Regions from separate parts of the Homo sapiens genome. Here regions 1 and 2 are each linked to region 3. The links are contacts of gene promoters, found by promoter capture Hi-C in blood cells and fetal thymus (Javierre and others, 2016). All regions are on one chromosome and are shown on one strand. The core of a region is centred on a gene start or on the middle of the fragment in contact, and the rest is flanking DNA. Distances in the headings are between cores, read along the strand shown.

Region 1 (3,539 bases), core at 7-2,506, 340 kb after region 3:
TCATGTCGAACCCCACAATTCCTTATTGAATGTGGTTGATCTTCTAAACAGACCTTCATTTATGAGAACATAAGCATATACTCATCACAATTTTGAAAAGAATGGAAGTCCTTCATACATATCAGTTTTTAATTTTATCCAATCATTAATTTTCTGCAGAGTTGTTTTTTCTTGACTTAATATTTTTGCAACTTTTTTCATTTTTTGTTCATTTCTTTCTATGTATTTCAACCCTTCCAACTGCAGCTGATCCAGCTTTTCATTTCGACTTTCATCTAGAGGTATGTTTTCACACATTACAGGATTGAATCTAAAATAGGTGTCAGGAGGTAACAGGCCATCAAGCATTATATGGACTTCTGTTAAAGCAAAAAAGAAAAGGATAAGGGGATAAGAAAAGAGGGGATAAAGTGAGCAATGAACTGTTAATTTGTCTTTATTTAAAATTAACTTCTTTTTAGGCACATTACAAAGATTCACTAATTTCATTATTCAAACTGACAGTAGAAGTAATCCATAATAATGGGTAAAACTATAAGATAAAATTCATCTTCCAAAATACATTATTCTGTGAAATTAGTATACTTCTTCTATTCTCTCTGTGCTTTTGGTCATACTGTTCACCACTGCTGAAATGCCCTTTCCAACTTTCCTTTTTTTTGGGATCAACTTCATTGACATATCATTTACATCCAGTGCAACTCACCAATTTTAACTGTATAGTTTGACAAGTTTTGACAAATGTATACACTTGTGTAAGCACAACAATAATCATGACATAGCCATTTCCATCACTGTAAAAAGTTCCTTTAAGCCTCTTTATAGTTGGTGCCCACTTTCCCTTTCCTAGAATTTCATACAAACAGAATCAAAAGTATCTACCTTCTTTTATGGACAAAATACTTTTGAGATTCATCCATGTTGTAGCATATATCAATAGTTCCTTTCTTTTCATTGCTAAATGGTGTTCCATTGTATAGATACAACACAATTTGTTCTCTGCAGTTCTGGTCTGGCTCTCTTCAGTTTTTAGCTACTAGAAATAACCCGATTATAAACATTTACACATAAGTCTTCATGTGCATATGATTGCATTTCCCTTGGGCAAAAACCTAGGAATAAAATTGCTGGTTCATATGGTAAAGGGTATGCTTATTTTAAAAAAAACCTGCCACACTGTCTTCCATTTTTGTATTCCAACCACTAATATATTAGAGTTCTCACTGCTCTACATCTTTGCCCAAAGTTAGTATGTCAAGTCTTAAGTTTTGCATTATAGAGGTAGTGGTATCTTGTGGTTTAATTTTTATTTCCCTAATGACTAATTATGTTGAGAAGGTTTTCATGTACTTATTAGTCATTTGTATATCTTCTTTAATGAAGTGTCTGTTTAAATCTTTTGCCCAGTTTTTTCACTGAATTGCTGTGTCCTATATATATGACAGTGGTGCAATCATGGCTCACCGCAACCTCGAACTCCTGGGCTCAAGTGATCCTCCTGCCTCAGCCTCCCAAGTAGCTGGGACTACAGGTGTGTGCCACCATGCCCAGATAGTTTTTTATTTTTCTGTAGAGATGGGATCTCACTATATTGACCAGGCTGGTCTCAAACTTCTGGGCTCAACCGATCCACCCAAAGTGCTGGGATTACAGGTGTGAACCACCATACCCAGCCTATTATTTTATATATATATACATACATATGTTATATGAGAATTCTCTATATATTTTGAACTTGATTATATATTATACCTCATGATGGGTCAGATGCATGTTTTATCAATATTTTAGTGTATGACTTGCCTTTTCATTTTATAAAAAGTACCTTTTAAAGAGCAGAATTTGTAATTTGAAGTCTAATTTATCTCTTTCTTTCCTTTCTGATTCATATTTTCTATGTCCTATCTAAAAAAATCTTTACCCAAGGTCATTAAGATTTTCTCCAGCATATTCTTCTATATGTTTTATAGTTTCAGCTCTTAGATTCAGGTTTCCATCTAAGATCAGGAACAGGGTAAGATGTCTAGTCTCACACCTTCCAGTAAGCATTGTACTGGAGGGTCCTTTTCAGTGCCGTAAAGCATTAAAAGGAAATGAAGGGCATGTAGATTAAAAAGGAAGTAAAACTCTATAGACAACCTGGTTGCCTATGTTGACAATTTTGAGAAAGCTATAGAAAGCTACTAGAATAAGTGAGTTTAGCAAGTTTGAAGTTATATAAGGTCAATAAGAAAAATCAGTTGTATTTCTGCATATTAGCCATGAACGACTGTGATGCATTCCAAGTTACTTTTGTGTATGGTGCAAAGGGTCAAGGTCAACGCTGTGGATACAGGTATCTAATAGTCCCGGACCATTTGTTGAAAAGACTGTCCTTTCCCACTGAGTTACCTTAGCATCTTTGTAAAAAGTCTTTTGAGTTTACATGTATAAATCAATTTCTGGACTCTCTATTACATACCATTGATTTATATGTCTATCTTTATTCAAACACCACAGTTCCTTGCTTAATGTAGTTTTATAGTCTTTAAATCAGCAGATGTAAGTCCTCCAACTTTTTTTTCTTTTTCAAAATTGTGTCAGATATTCTAGGTCAGGGGTCCCCAACCCATGGGCTGCACAGCAGGGGGTGAGTGGCAGGGCCAGTAAGCAAAGCTTCATCTGTATATACAGCCACTCTCCATCGCTTGCATTACTGCCTCAGCTCCACCTCCTGTCAGATCAGTGGTGGCATGAGATTCTCATAAGACTGCAAACCCTATTGTGAACTGAGCATGCAAGGGATCTAGGTTGCGTGCTCCTTAGGTGAATCTAATGCCTGATGATCTGTCACTGTCTCCCATCATCCCTAGATAAGACCATCTAGTTGGAGGAAAACAAGCTCAGGGCTCCCAATTCTACATTATGGTGAGCTGTATACTTATTATATATTACAATGTAATAATACTAGAAATAAAGTACACAATAAATGTAATGTGCTTGAATTATCCCAAAACCATCCCTCCCCTCCCCGCCCCCATGTGCGGAAAAACTATCTTCCACGAAACCAGTCCTTGGGACCAAAGAGGTTGGAGACCACTATTCTGGGTCCTTTGCATATCCATATACATTTTACAGTCAGCTTGTTAATCTCTATCCCTCAAAAGCCTGCTTGGATTTTGACAGGAATTGTATTGAATCTACATATCAATTTGTGATGTGATACCTTAACAATATTGAGATTTCCAATTCATGAACACAGTACATGTATTGATTTATTTAGGTCTTTAATTTCTCTCAGTAATGTTTTATAGTTTTCACTGTTCAGATCTTGCATGTAGCCCACAAATTTTAGTTTCCTTGGCCTCCTTGAACTGCAAATTTTGTTTCCACAACTCCCACTGAGACTACCCCACTTTTCTGGTGCTATAGAATAGAAACTATGCTATAGTGTAGAAACTCTTTTCAGGCAGCAAGCTGGACAATAATAGTGATGACCTCATTCATTCTCCTTTCAGAGATCGCTGTCCTATGTTACCTGTTTTCTCATGTCTGAAAAT
Region 2 (3,675 bases), core at 904-3,403, 360 kb after region 3:
ACTGCTTTTATGCTCCATAGCACTTATGTATTTCAGGGAAACTACTACATGTCATCTGTGTGATTATTTCATTAATACCTATGTTGCCCTACAGAGCTGTGAACCCCATGTCTGCATTTGCCCACAAATGAATCCAAAGTGCCTAGCAGTGGGTGTATAATTAATACTTGCAGAATGAATCAAAGTATGAGTATGCCATAGTTAAGAGCAACAGAAAGAGCTGCACTTGTTTGATTTTTCATGGTTACAGTTCGTTATCTGAGAATAAATACAAGCTGCATGAAATTTCTAGGCACATAAATTCTATTCTTTAAACAAGTAATATTAAACAGAACTCAAGCAACACTCAGATCATTGGGTTTCAAACACACAAATAAATGAAGAGCCACATTGAGACACATCTAAGTGACATTACAATTTTAATGGGGATTCAATTTTTATAATAATATAATCTAATATAGTCATGCATTGCATATCAATGTTTTGGTCAATGATGGACCGCATATACAACAGTGGTCCCATAAGACTATAAACGGGCTTCTATGCTGTATTTTTCACTGTATCTTTCTATAGATATTTTTTATCTAGATATTTGTATATCTGTAGATACGTAAGTATTCTTATCATTGTGTCACAATTGCCTACAGTATTCAGTATAGTCACCTGCTGTACAGGTTTATAGCCTAGGAACTATAGGCTATACCATTTAGCCTACATGTGTAGTAGGCTATACCATCTAAGTATGTCTAAGTACACTCTATAACACAGGTTTATAGCCTAGGAACTATAGGCTATACCATTTAGCCTACATGTGTAGTAGGCTATACCATCTAAGTATGTCTAAGTACACTCTATAATACTTGCACAATGACAAAATAATCTAATGACACACTTCTCAGAATGTATCCCTATCATTAAGTGATGCATGATTGTATTGTATCTAAGAGGCATATAAAATTTCTCTTTAAAAATCTAGGGTAAGAAGGCTGGGCGCGGTGGCTCACGCCCGTAATCCCAGCACTTTGGGAGGCTGAGGTGGGCGAATCACGAGGTCAGGAGATCGAGACTATCCTGGCTAACATGGTGAAACCCTGTCTCTACTAAAAAATACAAAAAATTAGCCGGGCGTGGTGGCGGCTGCCTATAGTCCCAGCTACTTGGGAGGCTGAGGCAGGAGAATGGCGTGAGCCCGGGAGGCGGAGCTTGCAGTGAGCCGAGATTGTGCCACTGCACTCCAGCCTGGGCGACAGAGCAAGACTCCGTCTCAAAAAAAAAAAAAAACTAGGGTAAAAAATGTCATAATGTTCCTTAAATCACTAGATTTGATTTTTAAAATTATGATGAAATAATTCTTATTTTCAGTCCATCTTTCATGTTCTTCCATTTCTGGTATAGTTTTACCGAATTTATAAAAGGTATAAGGATGATATCCCATCTCTTCATAGAATGACTCAATATATAAAGAATTAATACAATCTGTAATACCTTAATAAAAGGGCCCTCAGGGCCGGGCACGATGGCTCATGCCTGTAATCCCAGCACTTTGGGAGGCCAAGGCGGGCAGATCACCTGAGTTTGGGAGTTTGAGACCAGCCTGACCAACATGAAGAAACCCTGTCTCTACTAAAAATACAAAAAAATTAGCCAGGCGTGGTGGTGCATGCCTGTAATCCCAGCTACTTGGGAGGCTGAGGCAGGAGAATCACTTGAACCTGGGAGACGGAGGTTATGGTGAGCCGAGATCGTGCTATTGCACTCCAGCCTGGGCAATAAGAGTGAAACTCTGTCTCAAAAAATAAAAATAAAATAAAATAAAATGGCCCTCAGGACAAGTGCTTTCACCAGACCTTCAGATGGAACTAGGTGTTATATTTAAGAGACTCTAAGCTTACCTTAGGACATGTGGGGTTTCTTGCTGTTTCAATCATCAGTGCAGATCCCATCCTATCCCTTTATTAAAGGAGAAAAAAATAAGTTATATCAAAATGACTTTATCTCCTAACAACCAGGAAACATACAGTATGCAATTACTATTTGTCCATGGCTTTGTCAAAGTGCTATGAAGGAAAACATGTAAGACTCTCCTCTAGGAGGCTTATAATTCCATTAATGCACATGAAACAATATGCAGTTATTTATCAACCTCTGATTCAAACTGCAAGTATCTACAGTTCTGAGGTGGAGCAACGAACAGAGGGGCAGTAACTGGAAAAGATGCAGGAAGGTTGCTGGAGGAAGACATTGAAAGACTGCAAGGCAACATATTTAAAGCTAGGACATATACAGATTAAAGGCACAAAGGCAAAATAAATCTGTTGTTTTCAGGGTCCTGCCAATAGGATAAAGGAGCTGTGTTGAGATAAGACTGCAGAAGTATGCACGGGCTAGTTAGAGTAACCAGGTGAGGACAATGAGACTTTAAGCTTGTTTTAGTTGGTAACAGCCAATGTCATCAAGAAAATGGCTTTGAAAATCATCAGAGTTGGCATTTGAATTACTATGACATTACAGAAATTGTCCTTGGGCAGCAATTTTTGCAATTCCATAATAAGAGAATTTTATTTCAATGCAGACTTTTCCAGACTTAAAAATTATGTATTTTCCCTATATTGAATACAAAGACTATGGTTTCACCAGCCTTCCTCATGAGTAAAACCATTTTCTAATGTGTTTTTCAAACAATACTCATGTTTCCCAACTAGAATATTAGTGAACTTCATAAAAAGAATATTTACAAACTGCTCAGTGATCTACCCTTTATAAGCTTTAATAAATATCAATGTAAAATACTTTCCAAAATGGACAAGATCTTTTGTCTTTCCCAACCTGATCTATACATTTCTACTACATAAAGATCAATGCATTTTATCTTTTTAAGGTTCTTTGTCTTTTCACAGAATTCTTACTGTAAAATTACAAGAGAAATCCTAGGAGCATGCTGATTTCACACTTTTTGGCAAAGTTCATATTTATTTATTTTTATATTTGTTTAAATCTTGGTTTTCTCAAAACCTAAAATGCTTTTAGTGAATTCACTTATGAATATAAACTTGTAAAAAAAGCAATGGTAATTGTTTATTTCCGAGATGTCAAAATATGAAAAAAAAATCAACATGCCTAGATTCTACTGATGGCATAAAATAGTTCCCTTAAAATAACACAAAATTATCACAGCAAAATAAATAAATAAATAAAAGTCCTCTCAATAAACAATGGGCGAAAAAATGCTACGACAAAAAAGGCCAGAAGGTAGATATAGAAGAATATTAACAATACTGGCACCCAGTGAATCACAGTCCTGGTATCCATGTCATTGTATACAGTCTCTTCCTATACAGACTCTTGGTTGGCATGGCTTTCGTCCATGTGACCTCAACAAACATGCCATTAAACTGAGGCTTGATAAGTGCTTATGCACTGGGGCTTGCTCTCTGGGAACTCTGAAACCACAATGATGAGACGAAGCTTGGGTGAGAATGACCAGGTGGAGAGAGAGGCTTCCCAGGCCCATTGGTAGAGCCACCAAGTGAGCTCCGGCAAGAACAGAAGAAACACCCAGTCAAACCACAGAGTCATGAGACTAAATCATCATTGTTTTAAGCCACTAAGTTTTGGAGTGGCTTGTTCTGCAGCAAAGGCTGAGTTTGAAAAAGCAGAGAAAGAAAAAACAACTAA
Region 3 (3,722 bases), core at 609-3,108:
GGCCTTATCATCTCAGCCCTTATTTCCCAAAATCACTCACCTCTAGTCTTCCTCCCCATTTTCTATTTCCCATTTTAGGAGAGCTAAGCTCCAAACTAGATAAGTATTATAATGAATCTGGCAACTTCTAGAAGTTCTGTTATCTGAAATCACCTATCCAGTCATTATAAAACCCACAGCTGCACATACAGCGCAATATCAGAAAATGTGGTAACCCTGTGCATGCCTTCCTTCGTCAAACTATAAGTTTAATTGGTACTGCTTTTCGGGTTGGTTTACCAGAGCTGACATTGGAAAGCCTCTCAGGGGCTACATGGCACTCTTTTCTTGTTAAATTCATCAGTGAGTTTTAGTAATATATGTAAAAGTGATTAGGAGTAATAAACAAAACATTTTCCCTCCTTTGGATGAGATATGTATAAACGTATTTCCAAAGGCGCTGGGTGCATTTTGGTAGCCGTTTAATGAATGCTGCTAGATGACACTGGTCTTAAAATGTATTAAGTGTTGCAATAAACAGTGAAATATATTAGACTGAAAGTAACTTTCTGGCATTGCTAATTTATTTAATTTACTGACCATTCACTTATATTTGCCTCATCTGCTCTCACTTGAAGGCTGCAAAGAGTTTACTCTTTTTTGTCAAAACAATTTGGATGAAACAGATGAAGAGAAAAGGGCCATGTGGTGCCCATTTGCCCAGCTCCTAGAACCACAGGTGCATCGTGTTTGATAAGAGCCTCTCCGCAGGAAAGACATGCATTCCGCTCCTGTTTCTACTACAGCACCTTTCTTCTGCAAATTGGACAGTAATTTATAACACAGAAGATAATTATAAATACATTTATATTAGCCCTTAAGACTTTTTCTGGTACACAAATAATTGTCTATAAAGTGACAGTTCTCAGAAATCTTGTATTTAACTTTCCTTTGTCTAACTTTTTTTCATGTTATGTCAGGACTCATTAGATATTTCAACTGTTTTGCCTAAATTTCATCATAGTGAGGAATGCAGAATACAGAACTATAAAGTTTACTTTTTTTTTTTTTTTGGAGACAGAGTCTTCCTCTGTCACCCAGGCTGTAGTACAGTGGCACATTCTTGGTTCACTGCAACCTCAACCTCCCATGCTTAAGCAGTCCTTCCATCTCAACCTCCTGAGTAGCTGGGATTACAGGCATGTGCCACTACGGCTGTATAGTTTTTACAGAGATGGGGTTTCGCCATGTTGCTCAGGCTGGTCTTGACCTCCTGAGCTCAAGCAATTTGCCTGCCTCGGCCTCCCAGAGGGCTGGGATTACAGGCATGAGCCACCATGCCCGGCCAAGTTTATGTTTCTTTTAGTTATAGCAGACTTGCTTTTCTTAAAACAATATTTACACATATCTAGAACATTAACAAAATATTTTGAAAATATGGGTAGTTCTAATGCATTTAAACTTTTATAAGTTGTCATAAGTTTTATAACCATAACAAAAACAAACATTTGCTGAAAACACAATACAGTTGTACATTTCAACACTACATCATTTGAAGCTCCCTTCAAGGTACAGTAAGGCTCAAGTTGTTGGCTTCATATCACAATGCACTAACATCAATTTTCCCATTGGATACTGTTTTATGTTGCAAGAACCTTTATTTAAGTGTCATTGGACTATCATTCTGTAAAAGTAATAGTAATCTATGTGCTAATATGTCCCATTTCTTACTTTATGACAACTCCACTTACCCCCTAAATTCTAATACCTTCATTTAATCCATAAAAATGCCAATTTGCTAGTGAGAGAGCAGGCAAGACTTACCAGGATCTGGGAGTCTTTGTGGAGAGGTTCAGGCAGCAAACGGGGCATGTGAAGACACACCTGAAAGTTAGAGCCAGTTTATGTAGAAAACATTCTCCCCGAGGCACCTAAAAGTAGGGAAAAAAAAAGACAAGAGGTATTCCAATGCCTGTCAAAAAGGTGATTTGTGAAGTCACTTAAGTTTTAACTTATACACACACACACACCCACACACACACATAAACAGGGAAATAGAGCTCAGTTTTACAGCAAATATTTTTCTTGTTTTCTCTAAAACCAATTTTAATAGCCAGGAATAATGCACAGACATTTTGTTCCCTGATTTATTTATGTTTTTCTGGTTCATGTTTTAGCGGTCATTTTCAGACAGCTTGATACTTACCAGCTATAAAATGTGCGGAATTAGATGGGCTTGTTTCTCAGGAATGTGAGACCCCTGACTCCATCCCAATCTACTTTCAGGCGGACCAGGTGGAATAGTTTCAGATGGGTTCCCAAGGCTCTGACCAGTCCTACCTGGCTCAAGATCATCTTAAATGGCTCATAGATTTCTGTTTACCTTGTGATTCGGCAAGTACAACTAACCATTGTGGGAATGGCAAGTTTAAGTGGTTTTGGAATCCATGTGGTTTGAAATTTCATTCTCCTACGAGGAAGGTTTATAGTATAGAAATGAACCTACAGCAATCTTACATTTTATTCACTTGTCAGTGGATTAATATCTCCATTTCAAATCTGTGCAGTTTCAATGGGTAAGTTTATTGGTTGCTTGAAAAAACATTTAGGATTTCTAGAAGCTCATGGAAAATACCCTTAGGGAAGAAAAATGATTGTGAACTGAGCCAAAATGAGATGCTCATTTTTACACAACATTTACAAATCAGGAAATAGATTCAACAAACTTTCACCAAATACCACTCTTACAGGCCTTTAAGCTTTTTCAAGGGTATTTTTCAATGCTTCTTACCTGTTATTTGTGTTTTAATTTATTGCTCTATTTTTCCATCGATGCCACTGTTTTTAATTTTGTTCCCTATAGGTCAGGTTCATCTGCTCACTTCTGATGTACTAGAAAGCAAACTCCAAGAGGGCAGGAACATGTCTTTTCCATTTTAGGATGAAGTATAGAAGAAGCTTGCAGTCAATATTTGCTAAACTAACTTGTTTTATTTATTTTTTACAAGCCAACAGCTGCCACAAAGTACCAGGTGGTAGGAGACCAAAGAGCAGTATTTGGTTTTTAGGTGGATACTTCAGCAAAGTGTGTGAGTGAAATCAAGGGACTTTCAGTTTGTTCAATTGACGGGTTTGTGATCTGTTTTATTAGACCAATACTATTTTCCCTTTAGACTCTTAAATTATTGTGCAAAGCATAAACTCTAGGCATTAAAATTTATATAATTTTTAAACTTATTTCAAACATTGGAATTTCATATTGTCTTTTTTGCCTTTTGAGATATGTAAATTTTAAAAGCTTGTTGCATTCTTGAGTGATTTGATTATATCTTGAGGGGTTTTCCTGTTATATGTGTCTCCAGTTTTATGACGAGAATCAAAGTTACATGGTTCAAATTTCAAAAATTTCCCTTTAAATAATCATGAATAGGTTATCGTAGGCTGTTTTCCTGTAAACTGATGGCATGTCTTGGGGTATCTGCTTTCATCTCAATGAGTTAACTATTTACCTCTTAAGATTAGGTGTAGAGTTAGAAGCTGTCAGGCAGGATATATTTTCAAGAAAAATAATTTTCCCATGCAACTAAAAGATCAGTCTATCAGTTAATCAGAAGCAGTCTTTCAGTATAGCTCTCCTTAAAGTGTTGATATCTTTTTTATTAAAAGGAAAATAGCTTTATTGCTTTTCCTGGAGAGTAGTATATGCTCTTTTACCCAAAATCGGACAATATAAAAATTCAAAG

Evidence for each region. The method cuts DNA at HindIII sites, captures the fragments that hold promoters and counts their contacts. A CHiCAGO score of 5 or more calls a contact.
Region 1: a contact is called between a fragment that was not itself captured here and the fragment with the promoter of LAMB4 in region 3, in 3 of 17 cell types (endothelial precursors, naive B cells and fetal thymus). The highest score is 7.6, in endothelial precursors.
Region 2: a contact is called between a fragment that was not itself captured here and the fragment with the promoter of LAMB4 in region 3, in 6 of 17 cell types (endothelial precursors, M2 macrophages, total B cells and 3 more). The highest score is 9.1, in endothelial precursors.

What each region holds. Positions count from the first base shown.
Region 1 is chr7:108,472,317-108,475,855 of GRCh38, forward strand. It overlaps PNPLA8 (patatin like domain 8, phospholipase A2), which reads right to left. Exons shown (of 11, transcript NM_001256007.3): 11 at 1-359. The coding sequence ends at 85. Among named protein-coding and RNA genes, the nearest start is that of NRCAM, 18 kb to the left of the region's middle. The HindIII fragment of the contact is 2,794 bases long and covers 1-2,653 here.
Region 2 is chr7:108,489,518-108,493,192 of GRCh38, forward strand. It overlaps PNPLA8 (patatin like domain 8, phospholipase A2), which reads right to left. Exons shown (of 11, transcript NM_001256007.3): 8 at 1,893-1,950. Among named protein-coding and RNA genes, the nearest start is that of PNPLA8, 35 kb to the right of the region's middle. The HindIII fragment of the contact is 536 bases long and covers 1,886-2,421 here.
Region 3 is chr7:108,128,503-108,132,224 of GRCh38, forward strand. It overlaps LAMB4 (laminin subunit beta 4), which reads right to left and starts at 1,859. Exons shown (of 34, transcript NM_007356.3): 1 at 1,804-1,859. The HindIII fragment of the contact is 5,422 bases long and covers 1-2,736 here.